Linked DNA regions of Homo sapiens: region 2 is linked to region 1. The links are contacts of gene promoters, found by promoter capture Hi-C in blood cells and fetal thymus (Javierre and others, 2016). All regions are on one chromosome and are shown on one strand. The core of a region is centred on a gene start or on the middle of the fragment in contact, and the rest is flanking DNA. Distances in the headings are between cores, read along the strand shown. Region 1 holds the start of TBL1XR1 (TBL1X/Y related 1). Region 2 overlaps LOC105374235 (a long non-coding RNA gene).

Region 1 (5,329 bases), core at 1,134-3,633:
ATGCAGTCATTTACGCACAGAAATGTCTTGTAAACTACAGGGATATAAACAAATGCATGGATTATTATCATTGTGAGGAGGCTCAACTAACACTGAACAACTTTAGGAGGCAGCTTGGTGTAGGGTATAAGAACTTCAGGCTGGAAGACCTGATCCTATGAACCTGAAGGAGGGTGTCTCCTCCCTTGTGGAATAAGGGATAGAAGTCATTTAGGGGAAGGAGAAGGGGTGGGGTGGGCAGCTTTGAATATGACGCTTTAAGAATGGTATGGTTGAGAAGTCCTCACTCACTGAAAGTGGGGTTTGATTTTACAGTCACTGCTGTATGGAGAGGACCCGCCCGTGGTGGCACAATATGAAACTTAAAAAATAATCTAAGCCAATAGATATGTTTCATTGAGTGGCTCCACCGAGATAGTTTACTTACTGAAGACAGGGTATGTTTAGTGATATCTACGTCATTTATCAACTCAAAAAAAAAAAAAGGAAGATACTATATACTCTTTTCAATTCTGAAATAAAGTCTTCTGAAAGGTGTTAGTTCTGAGGTAAACAAGCCTCAGCTTTAGAATCCTATTGAAATGCAAAACTTGCTTTGTGCGGTTTCCCTGTACACTCTGCATAGTGTTTTGGAAACCTGCAGTTATCTAAATTCCCATCGGGTGACATTGTTTAATCCAACATTCCCACTTTCATACATGAAAATAGCTCTAAGGACACACCACTAATATGCTTTGAACTCTCTGGTGGTTGGAAGGGAGTTTCCAATCCCACTCCCTTTCCTCTGATGGTTTTCCTGCTCCCTGCCCCACTAGGTCATTCAGGAAAGGCCTCTGGCAGCTCCCCCAAGCAAGGGCTCAGGGGGGAAAGAGACATTGACCTTGGCCAAGAAAGCACCTGTCTAATTACTGAACTTATTAGGCCACCAGGAGTCCAGACTGGTGCAAGTTACGAGTAGTGTGTGTGTGTGTGTGTGTGTGTGTGTGTGTGTGTGTGTGTCGCAAAACTTCAGGTTTCTGATATTGAGAGGAAATGATGGTTGCTTTAAAGTGATCACTACATCTATTTTCAAATATTCTGATGAAAGTAGGAAAACAGAACCCTTCACCTTTAAGAAAGCTGCAAACATTATTTTGCTTTGAAGGCAGTAATAAGCGAAATAACAAAAAGGTTTCAAGTCGTATCTTAATGTAAAAGGGTGGCTGCTTCTCCAGTCCTGAGCTTATACAAAGCTCTAAAAAGCACCCTACCCCATCTTTCTGAAAGTCTTAGAAAGATTACCACCCCATTTGCTTTAAAACCTGTGAGGTGCCTCCCTTCTTTAAAAACAACCCTCCCTCAACCATACTGCCACATTATCACTCATCTAAGTTATACTTTATAAACCGCCTTGCTGTGCTTCACACATGCAAAAAGTACACAAAGTGGATAAACTTCTACTGTGGATGCCACTGTGCAGGTATATATTTAGTAAACATTTAGTTACATTATTTTATTTTTGTGAAATAAGAACTGATCGAGCAAACCTTTCAAACAGACCCACCAGATGATAAATACCACCATATGCTTGATTCACAGTACATTTGGGCATAAATACTTCAATTACAGCTTTGTGTTTAGTATCAAAAACCTTTTCTTGTGTGCGTGTTTTCTCTCCAGATCCCGTGCTCTGGATCACATTTTGAAAGTCGCTTATTACAGATAAAGCACCTTTCCAGGTACGCTTCGGAGAACCATATGTATTTACGCACACAAAGGTGTTCACAGAGATTTTCACAAACAAATGTCCATATGATGCCGCGCCGCACTCCCCCACATGCCCGCCGCGTGTGCGCCCAGCCCCCAACGCCGCCGGGCCGCCCCCCGGACACGCGGGAGCCCGCGGCGTCCTTGGGGAAACTTCGCCGGCGGCTCCACCCCGGCCACCGCGCGGGCCTCCCCGCCCCCACCCGTCTCGGGCCCAGCGGCCCACACCCGAGCACACCCAGGCCGGCCCGCGGCGGTGGGGGCGGGGCGGGCGGCCCGGGGCCCCGAGGCGCCTTCGAGTGCCCGCGGGGCTCGCCTGATTTTTAAAAGAATGCGCCGCACAGCCCAGCCCCCAGTGCCGCCAGAGCGGGCCGGGAAGGAGAGGAGCGCGGCCGCTGGAGCCCCCCCGCCGCGCCGCCGCCGCCTCCCGGCGTCCGCGGCGCCCCTCCCCCGCCGGCCCCTCCCCCGCGCGCCCGCCCGCCCGCTCGCCCGCCCGCCCGGCGCAGGCCGCTCGGGTTTGTTTTGCTGCGCGGCCGCCGCCGCCGCCGCCGCCGCGGGCCTCGCGAGCTCATTTGTGCCTGGCTGGTCCCCATTCCTCTCTCCCCAGTGTTGAGTGTCTGAGCCGTTGGCTGCTCCGAACCGTTTGGCTCTTTCCCTTAGTAACAGCTTTTACCTTCTGCCTCAATTCCTCTCCCCGCTCGCGCCCTTCCCCCGCGCGCCGCCTCCCCCCGCCGCCGGCCGCGTGCGCCCCCGCCCCTCCCCCCGCGGCGGGAGCACCTCCGCTCGCCACCTGGGGACCCGCGCCGCGCTCCCCGCCCCCGCCCGCCCGGCGCCCATCCCCCGCGCCCTCCGCTCGCTGGGGTTATAATTGCCTCTCACCCCCCGGAGGGGTTATTTTGGGGGTGGTTGGAGGCGGTGGCGGCGGCGGCGAGGAGGGGAATTTCCTTGTGCCTCCATTCCCGGGAGGGGGGAGCGGCGTTGGAGGCCACCGTTTCCAGGTAAGCGCTGGGGGCCGGACCCTGGAGTGGGGGCGGCCGGGGGCCTGGGCGGGGGGCGCGGGCCAGAGGCGGCCGGGGGCGCTGGGCCGCGGGGGGATGGGCGCGAGTGGAACATGCATTTTTCAACTTGGCCCTTGGGGGAACTGGGCTTGCGTGGGGGAAGGGAAGGCAGGGAGGGCACTTGGGGCGCCCCCATCCCCCCGTTTTCCTCTCTCAGGTTTCTTTGAAATGCTCACGTGCCTGCCCACCCCCCTACCCTTTCCCGGTCTCGGGGGATCCTCACCCTAATTATGTTGTCCCCGAAAATGTGCACCTCGGCCTTCTCCCCCTCTTCCTCCCTTCGTGCATTTACACCCCCTTTTTGTGCGTGTGTGTTTGGGGGGGGAGGCTTTCAGGAAAGGATTTGCAGCAAATTGAATCAAGGAGCCATCATGAGGCCGACTCCTTTATAGCCTATTTTTAGCAGAGGAGAAGGAGCTTTTCGGTGCATGCTATTTTGTGAAACCTCGGGCGGCAATGGAAATCTCCCCTCCCCGGGCGCGTCCCCGGCCCGGGCGCGGCGACCCCGGCCGGCGTGCTGGGGGCTGCGGGCGGCTGTTGGGGCCGCGCGTCCGGGGCGGGGGCGCCGGCCGGGGGAGGGGCGCGCGGCAGCCGGGCCTTGCTCCGGGACGTGTTTATTTGTAACTTAGTGCTTTTTATCGTCTTAAGGAGGTATTTGGTGGAGGCTCTTTGAAGTTGGGTTCAGGAGTGTAGAATTGGCAAAGTTATTGCCAGCTTCCTGGTAAGTTTTGGGTGGCACAGAGTCACGTTATTTTCTGACAGTGTAAAGGCCACGTTGTGAGGGTGGTTTCTCGGTAACTTCCTCTTTGCAACCGATTTAATTTTTTGAACAGAAGCAGACTTTTATTTAAGTGGAATATTAATCTTAAATGGCAGCTCGAGGGAAGCCATGCATGTGTTAACGTGTTCAGTATTTTTGGAAGTTCTTAATTTGCTGAAACAGGCATCACTTCGCAGTGGCAACCGGGATTAAATTTAGGTTGTGAAAATGGTGTATTTCATGTAAAATTTGGGTTGTGGCTTTTAAAAAATGCTCTCTTTGTTAGGTTATCTAAGTGTCTCTAAGATAATTTGGTGATTACAAATGAGAAATGTTGGAAACTAGTTAAAAATTAGGTGTTCTCAGTGTCTGGAGTTTACTTGAAATCTTGGACTGTGCAGGCACCAGGGGTGAAGAGTTTTAGTACCTATGTGATTTACAGTTGACTTAGGAAAGTTTACTATTCACTTTCTTGTTTTCCAAACAGGAACCGTATGCTGATCTAAACAAGCTTGTTAATAAAATGTGGGGGGTGAAAATGCCAGGTTATTTTTAGTTTGAATTTTAAGACTGAATGGTTGCTCTACCCCCCACCTCATATAATTAAGTGATCTTCCCCCTCCGTTTTTCCTAAAGGCTTCTTCACCAGTTTGGATAATAAGGCCCTCGTGGTGTGTTCATCTACTTACCTGAAATAACTTGGAATAAATAATTTCGATTACACGTTGAAGATACAATGAGTGACTGTTTGGGTTTTCCAGTGTGATTCATTTTCATTTTTGTTAAAATAAGACCCATGCTACATTGATGTATTTTAGTAATGCCGACTTCCTGGGATTGTATGTTCTCACCATTTTAATAGTTTATAGTCTGGGGAAGTAGGGCACCTTTGTCTCCCCGAAAACATGGTGTGGGTTGGGTGGTATCATGGGAGTTGATGGCAAGCTTCCCAAATAGTTGAGAGTTCTAGAAATAGTTAGCATTTACCTGTGGGGGAGGGGCTGCAGGAAGAAAGTATGCCTGAGAGCAGTTAGGCGTGTGATGTGTGATTAGGCTTCTTGCTCTTAAATCCAGGTTTTCTTGTTTGGAATATGATTTTTTTTTTCAACCCTATCCTGCACTGAGATGTATGTAATCGCAATCATTAAATTCATAAATAACTACTATTTTTTTTGACGTTTGAGTTGTTGGAATCCGACCTACAGGACAAAATACTAAACTGTATGGGGGACGAAAACTACGTGCCTGGGAAAAGTTTTTCTTATTGCTAAGGAACTTAATAAAGTGACATGTTAATGGCATAAAAATTGTTGCAAAGCTCACCGTCAGTTTATGACATTTTTCTTTTAACGTATACCAGCTTTGGGTATTAATGTGGGAGACACTGGTGGTAAATGGAGTGACCCCTTGCAGAGATGATATTTTTGCATTGGTTGCTTCAAAGAAGTGTTAAGCATTTTAATACGTATGTCTAAGAATCTTTTTGATATTTGTATTCTCGACACCTAATTAAAGGTTTTGCATGATTACCATGACACCAGTCTCCCGAAAGAATTAGAGGTAACTGCTTCCTGTGTTCTAGGAGCCTTTCAAGCTAACAGAAGGTAATATAAATATAAGGGGTACTGATAAAAGGAAATGTATTAATAGACCTTTTGAACATCAACTTGTTGATTAAATCTATCAGTGCAGTATATATACAACCTTGTCAGACGAGTAGCTGACAAAGGAATCTCCCTAGTACAACTTGTAGCAGTACTATTAT
Region 2 (5,695 bases), core at 2,547-5,046, 1.1 Mb before region 1:
CATCTAGTTATTTAAAACATATTTAATGAAGTTTGTCATCCAAGTAATAACTGTAATATATTGCTTAAACTAGAAAATATGTACATGTAAATCATCTTTTAACAGAATTATAGCAATTAGACTCATCTCTTTACATTTACTTAAAAAGAATTTTATTCATCTAGATATTAATTGATCCAAACATATCAGTTTTTGCCATTTAAAACTGGTATGTATATAACTTTGTTACCAAAATTCTGGTAGTACTATCAACATGCTCTGTGGAGAGAAAATATGACACAGGACAGAGACAATGGTTTTCAAGTAAAGTCGGAACAACCTGAATTCAAAGCCCAGATCTGATATTTACTAGGCAAGTAAACTTAAATAAGATTCTTAAATCACCAAGTCTCTTTTTTCTTATCAATAGAGATATTACCTCCAACCTTACAGAGTTGACAGTTGTGTATTAAATAAAATACATGTAACATACCCAGCATACATAGTAGACCAAAAAAGGGGTGTAACTATTATTATTATCATTATTATTGTACAAAATCTACACTAAACAAAAGCAGTGCTAAACTTAAAGAAAATAGCTCCCAGTCTTGCCAGCATCTATTGCTTCCTGACTTTTTAATAATCACCATTCTGATTGGCATGACATGGTATCTCATTGTCATTCTGATTTGCATTTCTATGATAAGTGATGTTGAGATATTTTTCATATTTGTTGTCCACATCAATGTCTTCTTTTGAGAAGTGTCTGTTCATATCCTTTGCCCACTTTTTGATGGGGTTGTTTGTTTTTTTCTTGTAAATATGTTTAAGTTCCTTGTAAATTCTAGATATTAGGCCTTTGTCAGATTGGTAGATTGCAAAAATTTTCTCCCATTCTGTAGGCTGCCTGTTCACTCTGATGCTATTTTCTTTTGCTGAGCAGAAGTTCTTTAGTTTGATTAGATCCCATTTGCCAATTTTGGCTTTTGTTGCGATTGCTTTTGGTGTTTATGTCATGAAGTTTTTGCCAATGCCTATGTCCTGAATGGTATTGCCTAGGTTTTCTTCTAGGGTTTTTATGGTTTTGGGTTTTACATTTAAGTCTTTGATCCATCTTGAGTTAATGTAAATTAGTTCAGCCATTGTAGAAGACAGTGTGGCGATTCCTCAAGGATCTAGAACCAGAAATAAGATTTGATCCAGCAATCCCATTACTGAGTATATGCCCAAAGGAATATAAATCATTCTACTATAAAGACACATGCACATGTATGTTTATTGCAGCACTGTTTACAACAGCAAAGACATGGAACCAACCAAAATGCCCATCAATGATAGACTGGATAAAGAAAATGTGGTACATACATACCATGGAATACTGCATGGTACATATATACCATGCAATCATAAAAAGGAATGAGATCATGTCCTTTGCAGGGACATGAATGAAGCTGGAAGCCATCATCTTCAGCAAACTAACACAGGAACAGAAAACCAAACACCCCATGTTCTCAATCATAAGTGAGAGTTTAACATTGAGAACACATGGACACAGAGAGGGGAACAGCACACACCAGGGCCTGTTGGGGGGCAGGGGTGAGGGGAGGGAACTAGAGGACGGGTCAATAGGTACAGCAAGCCACCATGGCACGTGTATACCTATGTAACAAACCTGCACATTCTGCACATGTATCCCATTTTTGTTTTAGAATAAAAATAAAATTTAAAAAGCATATTAATAAAGCTTATTAACTATTAAAAATAAAAAAGAAAACAGCTGATTTGTGATGCTTAAAATATAATTTTTGGTGTGGTGCACTTGTGCACGTGCTTCCTGCAGTTCATTTATTAATTACTTACAGTAAATGCTCAAGAAATATTTGTTGATTGATTATTCAATCTGACTTATAAAAATATTTGAGCTCAGTACCCCATAGTGAATTTATTTTATTTTATTTATTTATTTATTTATTTATTTATTGAGACAGAGTCTCACTTTGTTGCCCAGGCTGGAGTGCAGTGGCATGATCTCGGCTCACTGCAAACTCCGCCTCCCAGGTTCAAGTGATTCTCCTACCTCAGCCTCCCAAATAGCTGGGATTACAGGTGTGTGCCACCACACCCGGCTAATTTTTCTACTTTTAGTAGAGATGGGGTTTCACTGTGTTGGCCAGGCTCGTCTCGAACCCTTGACCTTAGGTGATCCGCCCACCTCTGCCTCCCAAAGTGCTGGCATTACAGGCATGAGCCACCACGCCTGGCTGTGATATTTATAAAGTAATATTTCTCAATGCAAATAAAATCTCTACATTGTTTTGCAGTTTGGATTTTCATATAATAGTATTGCACAAAGTAAAACACAACTAGTATTCTTTTCTTTTTTTCCCTTTAAAGTACTAATGAACTATTTTTACTTACAATTTTAATTTCAAATTTCTAATTGATGTTCATGGAAAATGCCTCACTACAATTACTTTACATCTGAATACCTTTCCTGAATTATTGAATTAGTTTATCATTCTCAGTGTACGGATGAGAGGCAGAAATTTCCTGAATTACTTTCTCATTCTCAGTGCATGGATGAGAGGCAGAAATGCTTTTTACCAGGTAGCCCCCTTTTCTCTGAAATCAAAACTTCCTTTTTGGGGAATAAGAATTACATTGCTCTCTCCTCCCACCACTATGAGACAGCATAGAGAAGACAAACAGAAAAGAAATAATTTGACTTCTGGAATCTCATCACTATAAACAAAGGCAGATTAAAACTGAATGAAAACTCAAACATCTAATCAATTTCCTGCTTCGTATGAAACATGATGTCAATTACCATGTCCTGACACATTCTGTTTCACAGTTATCAAAAATTAACTAATAACAGGTTTTATTAATTTCTGGTCAAATGAATATAGTTCATGCTAATTGTTTATTCATATATCACAAATGTATGGAGCTTTTACTAAACTATTAAGCTGTTACTATAATGTAAAACAACTAGTCTAAGCTGCAGAGAGATGGTTAGGTTTTGGAGGGAAGGAGCTGAAAATAAAAGATCCAAGATTTGCCCTTCTAGAATCTTGTGGTGGAAAAAAAAAAACATATAACTTCAGATACACATATCAAGGGAAATGATACATACAACAAAAACAATAGAACTTGACAACCATGTGATGACAGACTAATGGTTTGTATTTGGTCTAGTTGGAGCTCAGTGTTCATTTGTAGAATAGAGGAAGATGAAGCTTGTAAGGCAATTTGAAACCAGGCTGTGTAATCCCTTAAATAACTCACAGTTAAAAGGCCCAGCCTTCAAGAATAGGCTTTAATAATCAGAAGAAACTACCCTAAGTATAGTTAAGTGCAGAAAGAACCATATCCTTCTTCCTGTAGATAAGACAACTGACTGACCTTCAGCATTTTGCAATACTTAATACGGAAGTTACACACTAACTCAGGCGAACATCTAAACTTCATGCCTATGTATAGCTTGAAATAATCCTGAGCTTTTTATTATTTCTAGAATTCAGTTCATTCATGTGTCTGTAATGCCAATAATTGTACGTGTAGAATTCAGTGTTTACTTTTTAAAAATGAAATAGCTCTCCATATTATTCTGATGTACATAGGCCATAGACTGTGGTATTTGGGAAATGCCAGTTTTTTATATACATATATATATATATATTTCACACACACTACAGTGTAAACACATACATAAGACTTGAATAGATAATTGCTAAAAGTATAAAGCTGTATCTGGAATTCCTGTAAGTAAATAATTTTTCTAGAAATGATTTAATAATAATGCCTACAAGAGCTGTATCTCCTAAGAATGTTATGTATCAGACTTCAAATACCATATTATCCACTAATTCTTAGGTGTTTGACAATATTCTGATTAAATCTTTCTCTTTCTCTCCTTTTGGTGGGATCTAAATCAAAATATTGACAGAAACAATTTCAGAAGGGAAAATGGAAAAATACATAGGATAGTCAAAGTTGCATGCATGTCTGTGCATTTGCATGATTTACATTCTATTTAACTTGTGTGGTACAAAATACATAAGAATTTCAAGCACCTTTTTACTCCAAACTATGATTTTGGCAAGGCAGAGAGAGAAGATTTTACCACATAAAGTAGTAATGTTTTATTTGGTAATATTTTATGTTATCATGTAACCATTCACAATATAATTGCATAGACTCCTGTAACAACCTCTTCAGGACAAAAAAGGTAATTACTGAGTCAGATTAAAAGCAACTGATCCTTAAGCAGCCTTAAGAATAAACACATAAGCTACTAGTTTTATATCTATATTAATTCATCCATTTGTTCTTTCAACAAACATGTAACCAGGGACTCTTGTGTGCAGGAATTATTACATAGACCAAGCTTGTAATGACGGGAGACACGGGCCGTAAAGTTCAGCAACTGATAAATAGAAAATACTAGATTAAGAAAACCAAGGAAGAGTCTATGGGACAACAGGATGGCTTGGCTGTAACTACAAAGATTTTAGGTCTCCACTGCAGGCATGCCACTCTCAATTAAAAACAAGAAAGCAAGCAGAGCACACAAAAAAATAAGTATGTGAGGTGACGGGTATATTAATGAACTTGATTCAATCAGTGTATAATGTATACTTATGTCTAACCTCACGTCATGCTCCATACATATATACAATTATGATTTGTCAATTAAAATAAAAAATAAAAACAAAAAAAAGCCCCAAACAAGGAAACAAACAGAAGACAGTGAACTAGATATTATGTGATCTTGGACAAATGGTTCAATGCTTCTACTCCCTCAGTTTCCTTGTCTGCTAAATTAGAAAATATCCCTTAATTCACAGTTGTAAGAAGGATGAAATTGGATACTGCACATGAAAGCAGTTTGTAAATGATGAAATATTCCTCAAATGTAGACTGTCATTTCCGTTCCTGTTTCATCGTTAAAATTGGTTTTTAGGAGCACAAGGGACCAAGCCTGAGGAGGCATCAGGTATGTAAAAAAGTTACCCTTTGTAGGACAAACTGAAACAAAGTTCTGTTTTGGTGAGAGTAGAAAGGTGTGCAGCATTGTGAGGAAGGACATATAGATGACAATAATTCTTATCATGGTAGAAAATAAGTATTCATAAGGCAGCATAGAAGCAGAAGGCAGAGAATCCATTTATCAAACTTTTTTTGTTTCTTTATCAACAGTGACTTGGAAGACCTATCAGTTTGTCAGTGCATTCATTGAGCTAAATGCATAAAATCCTCCCTTCAGACATAACAAAAGCATGAACAAAATCAGTATTCTGGCAGTATTAGTAGCATTTGACTTGACAAGCTGTGTGGGAAGCTACTTGTCAAGGCCCCGTGATAATGAAAATGGCTTTCTTCACATTACAAAGATATTACTTATCTCCTATAGTTTGAAAAGCTATAAAAATTTTTGCACTTTTCCTATTTACATTCTAATCTTCAACATATGTTTAAGTGCATGACATTTTGTTTCTGCTATTCTTGCCAGAATATAGGAAAGGACGTGTGGGTTGCTGTTACTTTTTGTTTTAGGAACAAGTCAAAACGTGGTTGCCTGTAACTTTAAAAAACTTTGTAAAACTTTAAACTTCTTAGTTGTGACTGTTGAGCATGTTTTCCTCAGCCTGGAGACAGTGATAATAAATTTCAGATGTTTACTATGTATGACACTGATAAGGAGGCTTCCAGA

The links. Contacts are between HindIII fragments. The CHiCAGO score rates a contact against its expected background, and 5 or more counts as called.
Region 2: a contact is called between a fragment that was not itself captured here and the fragment with the promoter of TBL1XR1 in region 1, in 1 of 17 cell types (erythroblasts). The highest score is 8.1, in erythroblasts.

Annotation. Positions count from the first base shown.
Region 1 is chr3:177,194,536-177,199,864 of GRCh38, reverse strand. TBL1XR1 (TBL1X/Y related 1) reads left to right here and starts at 2,383. Exons shown (of 16, transcript NM_024665.7): 1 at 2,383-2,744. RefSeq lists silencers at 1,792-2,171, 2,412-2,601, 2,712-2,811, 3,292-3,341 and enhancers at 1,789-2,296, 2,297-2,806. The HindIII fragment of the contact is 6,955 bases long and covers 1-4,077 here.
Region 2 is chr3:178,261,022-178,266,716 of GRCh38, reverse strand. All of the region lies in intron 2 of LOC105374235 (a long non-coding RNA gene), which reads left to right. Among named protein-coding and RNA genes, the nearest start is that of LINC01014, 160 kb to the left of the region's middle. The HindIII fragment of the contact is 1,151 bases long and covers 3,221-4,371 here.